Regions from separate parts of the Homo sapiens genome. Here region 1 is linked to region 2. Evidence: promoter capture Hi-C in human tissues and cell types (Jung and others, 2019). All regions are on one chromosome and are shown on one strand. The core of a region is centred on a gene start or on the middle of the fragment in contact, and the rest is flanking DNA. Distances in the headings are between cores, read along the strand shown.

Region 1 (2,700 bases), core at 178-2,677, 500 kb before region 2:
TCATGCATTCATGTCTGTCTTCCTGGCTCAGGAGAAAGAAGAGGCTGTTGAGGGTCCGACTCCCTACTTGGACTTCTGGCACAGAAGGGGCTGAGTGACTCCTTGAGTAGCAGTGGCTCTTCCTAGAGTAGCCATGCCGAGGCCGGGGCCCCCACCCCTCCTCCAGGGCAACCCCTTGGTCCTACAGCAAGAAGCCAGAACTGTTGGAATGAATGGCAGCCCTCCCTGGAGAGGCAGCCTGTTTACTGAATACAGAGGATACGTTTACAAACTGAATACGCATAATAAATAACTGCACATTCTCCATCCACAGGCCATGGCATGAAGGCCCAAGTGGGTCTATCAAAGGCCCACATCTCCAAACCCCCTGTCCTGCCCTCAGGACCAGGCCCACCCTGGGCAAGAGAGAACGTAAGCCCCAGGGCTTCAGGTCCCCAGAGACACTTGGGGAACTGGGGGGAAATTCTGAGGCCATGGGGCTTGGTTCTCCACTGCCTCCTGCCCAGGGGGCATTGGGGACGGTAGGAGGATGTGTCTAAGGCATAGTCGACTTGGCACAGAGTGGTCTCTTTAGTTTTGTTTCCCACTGGAGGTGGCACATGCAGGAAAAGGGCCTGGCCCAGGCTGCCGACCGGCAGAAGCTGAGTGGGAACCAAACCCTCCTGCAATGGCAGGGGCCCTGCCGTCAAGCTAAGGCCAAAGCTGGGCCCTGGCCCCATTCTACCCACTGAAGGCAGCTGTGGAGGAAGGGGCTTGGGTTCCAGCCTGGTTTGTGGTAGGGGGAGATACCACAAAAGAAATGGGGATGGTTCTGGCTCAGGCCTCTGGGAAAGCAGCCACCCAACCCCACCCACCTCCCGCAGGGGCTCCTTCCAGCTTGAGGCTCAGTGGGACCCAGACTGGAAGGTTAATGCTGTGAAGGGAAGCAGCACAGGGTGGACGGGGCAAGGCCAGCTGTGAGAAGGCAGTGCCCCTGGCACCCTGGTTTCAGAGGCAGGTCACACAGTATGGCTAAGTTCCAGGGAGGGGTGCGCAGAAGCTCAGCAGAAGGGGAGAGGTGAGCAGCCCGGGACCCTCCCCCAGGGCGGCAACTCCTACCTTCCCATGTCCTCATGGAGGACTACAGGTGTGCACCATGGGTGGGTGTGCACGATGGGCAGGTGTGCACGATGGGCGTGCAGTGATCACTCCCAGGCTGCCAACACCCATGCAGACACCAGATGGCGCCTTCGTGCAGCTGCAGAGGAGGGAGCAACAGAGCCTGAAGGGAAAAGGCAATGGGGCTGCACCAAAGGATAGAACCCAGGCTGACACTCGACCCTAATCGGGAGGACCCCCTTCCCTCTGCCTTGGCCCCCAGGTGCCCCATTCCCCAGGTAGCAGCAGTGGGGCTCCCTTTAACCACCCCCAGTTGGGAAGGAGGCACCTGGGGAATGGAATGGACATCCAACGGGGAGAGGGAGGTAGCGGTGGGCTCTACAAAGAAGGCACCAAGGGCGGTGGGCTGAGACCCCTCAGAATCTGGAGAGGCTGGAGCCTGGGCAAGCCGATGACCAGCATGGCCACACAGTCCAGAAGGGTGAAGGTCCACGCCATGGCCCTCCACCAGAGGTCCTGGGACCAGGAAGGCTCCCTGGAGGCACCATGAAGGAAGACAGATCTTGGCTGGGAGGTGGAGGGCTGTTTCGACCTAGCCAGGGGCTACGGGTCCAGTCAAGGCACAAGCTTTGTGCCTACCAGGGTCTCCCACTGGAGCATAATCTTAAGGATCAGGATGCATGGGAATGTGTGAAACCAGGGAGAAGGGCTCTGTGGAGGAAAGGGGGTCCCAGAAGTAACTGTCCCAAAGGGTCCTGAGGCCACAGGACACTCCACCCAGCACTGCAGTTCCCTTTGATTGGGGAAAAGTCAAAGGGCAAGGGAGACAGTGAAGGCCAGGTCCTATCCCTTCCCAACTCCACCAGAGCAGCTGCCCACCAAGAGGGGTATCAGTGCCAGGCCAGGCTCCCAGTTCAGGGGGAGTCACAGCCCCCTGTGCTACCTCTACTCTGTCACACCTGGCCCAGGCCCATGGTGAGGACAGGGGCTGCTGAAGGCACAGAGAAAGGGCTGGAGCCAGACATTCTTCACCTACTGTGGGCCACATAGGCCTATCTCCAGAGAGGGCATCGGACCCAGATGGCACCACAGTGTGTGGCCAGGCTGGGTCGTGCTGCATGTGTGCACAGCCAGGCGGCTCAGCCATTGTATTGCTGCTGGTAGCGCAGGTTGAGCTCCCGCAGCTCCCGTTCCCGCACACGGCGTGACTTATTGGAGCGTGTGGAGCGGCTGGAACGCGTGGACTGGGCAGATTTGGTGCTCTGGCAGCGCGAGGAGGCACGTTTAAGGAGGTTCTGGGATATGGAGCGGTGCAGGTTCTTCATGGATGAAGAGGCAGCCATGCTCACCACCCACGGGTGCCTCAGGGCCTGCAGTGCAGTCATACGGGCTCCAGGGTCCACTGTCAGCAGGCGGTCAATGAAGTCCTTGGCCAGGTTGGACACACTAGGCCAGGGCTAGAGACCAAGGACAAGCATTAGAGTGAGAGCATCTGACACTGCCCACCCCATCTGGATGAGGCCACTACTCAGCAACCCTCCCCTTTCCAGAGAGAGGTGCTGCCCCTCCTCTCATGTAGCACTTGGGGCCTCCCCGCCCAAC
Region 2 (2,700 bases), core at 178-2,677:
CTTATCTCCACTCATGCTCCAAGGCCCCACTCAAGGATTTCCTCCTCCGGAAAATTCTCCCAGCCCCATCTGATCACACAGGGCCCCTACTAGACCGAGGTCTCTGAGAAGCCAGGTTGCTGGCTGCCCCAGCAAAGGCCCAGCGCAAGGACAAAGCCTGGAGCACCTGTCCAAAGCCGTGGGTATTGGCGAGAGACCAGGCTGCTCCTCCCACGATGCAATGGAGTCAGTGCCCCCTGGCCTTTCTCCCCCTCCCCACTTCCGGCGGGCCTCCAGCCCCCCCCCCCCTTCCCCTTCCCTCCCTCTGGTGACAGATTTATTCCCTGCTCCAGACAAAGGAGCTCAGCTAGGCGGCCAGAGGCACCTGAGCCCAGCTCTCTAAGAGCTCCTTCCTGGGCACAGAGGACCAGGAGGGCTTGGGGGTGGGGTGCTGGGTGTAGGCTCCAAACTACTGCCTCAGCAGTTTGGCAGTGGGTGGCTAGACAGAAAGACAGCTGAATGTCCAGCTGCCCCTCACGGTGACCTCTAGCTTTTCTGAACTCCAAGGATCCCAGCCAGTGGGGGATGGGTGGGGTGGGGAAGTTCCCCATCTAAGCTCTTCCCTCTGGCCCGAGGAATGGGAGATGGGTATCTTAGGTGGGGATGTCAGGCAGAGTTCAAGGGGTAACGATCCTCCCTTCTCAAGGCCTCCGAAGTCCCCTGAGACTGCTCTCTTGGGGAAGGGAATGGCATAAACTCTCAAACTCCAGGAGGTTCCCTCTTCTCAGCCACCAGTCAGTTTCCTTCTCGAACCGGCCCACTCCCTGTCTCACTTTCCCTCCAACACTCCCCGCAGCGGCAGGTAGTGAACCCGGGCTTGGGGAGGTGCCCGGCGCTCCCTATTTGGCTCGCTCCCTGCACCCAGGGGTGGAGAACTCTCCCACTCTTGCGCTGAGGAGCCCGCCTTGGCTGTGCCCATGGGGAGTCAGTCCTGTTGAGTGTCCAGTCCCGCCCTCGAGCCTGGAGTCCCCGCGCTCCGCGACCCGCGCACTCACCGGTGATGAGCACCGCGCGAGTGGCCACCGGCAGGCGCTGCGGGCGCGCCAGGCGGGACAACGCGATCCAGCCGGCGGCGGCCAGCACGGCGAGTGCGGCCGGCGGGGGCAGCAGGCGCTGGCACAGCCAGTCGAGCGCGGCCAGCAGCGCCAGCGCCGCCAGCAGCGGGCGGCCCAGACGCAGGTCTGAGCGCAGCAGCTGCAGCAGCGCGCGGGCAGCCACGAGCAGCCAGGCGCCGCCCGACGGCCAAGGCCAGCGCTCCATGGCGGCCCAGCGGGCTGGGGCGGGGCGGGGCGGGGGCCGGGCCGGGGAGCGGGGAGAGAGAGCTTCTAGGCCGGGGCGCGGAGTGCGGGGGTACACCGGCCTGGGGCGCGAGAGGGACACTCGCTTTCTCTGCTCGCCCTCGGGCCGAGCTTATGAAGAGCCCCGGGGGCGGGGGAGAGGGCGGGGAGCGGGAGGGGCGGGGGCGGGGCTTTCCTTCACTTCTCTCCCGGCACCCCCCGCAGGGCAGGTGCTCCCCCCCCGCCCCGCCCCCTCGACCAGATTCGATTTGGAAAAAGCCGGAACAAAGTCCCAAAGTTGCTGCGCTCGAGGAGCCGCCTGGCTGCGGGCGGTGCTTGGGAGAGGGCCCGTCGGTCCAGCCCGGGTGCCCGGCCTCAGCTCTCCGCCGCGCCCCCACCCACACGCCCGGGGCCGCCAAGCCGCCGCGCTCAGGTGAGCACATGCCACTCACGCTTGTTCGGGACACCTGAGGACACGCACAACCGGCATCCCGGTGCCCTTTGCTGATCGCACCACCGCGGCCGCCAAGCCTGCAGGAACACCGCGAGGAACCAGCCGGTGCTCACCCGGTCTCCGCTGCCGCTGCCGCTGCCGCCCGCGCCCGTACACGCGCCGCACTCCCACGTGGTCGGCTGCGCCAGGTCCCTGGCGCACACACCCTAAGGCGCGCTCACCCCTGAGCAGCTCGCGGCCACAAAACCTGCCTGGGACAGGGGCTGGCGGGGGAACAGGACGACCGCTCCCGGTTCTTGGAGTCTCTGCCCCGTCTTTCCCTTTCCTTCCAGGGCTTAAACCTGGGGACGCACAACCCCACTTCCTGCCTCACAAATGTATGTGTGTGGGGGTCAGTGGAGGGTGGGGTGTCAGAGGAAGCACCTAGGTCTCCCATTACTTATGGCCCACCCCCGCCAACCCCAAGAGCCAGGCCAGAGGGACGTCGGTGAAGGCAGCCTCTAGGACAGGGTGGTCCCTGCCTTGCTCCCCTGAACCCCCAGGGGGTAAAATAAGTGGTATGAGTGTGGGTGGATTTTTCTGCCTGCGTGTGTGAAGGTCTCCATGCTTGTGTGTGGCCCAGTGGCCCCCCACCCTGCCCACCCCCGTGTCTGGCACCCTGTGCCTAGCATCCATGCCAGGGCTCTGCCAGGCACTGGGAGTTGGTGCCAGTACCTGGCTGCAGGCTTGATGCTGAGAGCAGTAGGTGTAGCCCTCGACAGAGGGGTCCCTGCTTCCCGTGGGCTTCCAGGCCGTGCTCAGTGCCTCATCCCTGCCCTCCCAAGATCCTGGGAGGTTGTGGACTCCCTGTCACACTTCCTAGCCCTGTTGCTCATTCTCTCTTAGGTGCCCAGGCTCTGCCAGGGTTTCAGGGCAATGCCTCCTCCAAAG

What was found. The method cuts DNA at HindIII sites, captures the fragments that hold promoters and counts their contacts. A contact is called where the count stands out against the background at its distance.
Region 1: a fragment that was not itself captured here is called in contact with the fragment with the promoter of HSD11B2 in region 2 in 1 of the 25 tissues and cell types used here (dorsolateral prefrontal cortex).

What each region holds. Positions count from the first base shown.
Region 1 is chr16:67,927,180-67,929,879 of GRCh38, reverse strand. PSKH1 (protein serine kinase H1) reads right to left here. Exons shown (of 3, transcript NM_006742.3): 3 at 204-2,555. The coding sequence ends at 2,238. CTRL (chymotrypsin like) reads left to right here. Exons shown (of 7, transcript NM_001907.3): 7 at 1-306. Among named protein-coding and RNA genes, the nearest start is that of CTRL, 3.3 kb to the left of the region's middle. RefSeq lists enhancers at 324-1,034, 2,407-2,700. The HindIII fragment of the contact is 3,913 bases long and covers 1-2,700 here.
Region 2 is chr16:67,429,848-67,432,547 of GRCh38, reverse strand. It overlaps HSD11B2 (hydroxysteroid 11-beta dehydrogenase 2), which reads right to left and starts at 1,427. Exons shown (of 5, transcript NM_000196.4): 1 at 1,035-1,427. The coding sequence starts at 1,299. RefSeq lists silencers at 1,309-1,488, 1,709-1,758. The HindIII fragment of the contact is 17,409 bases long and covers 1-2,700 here.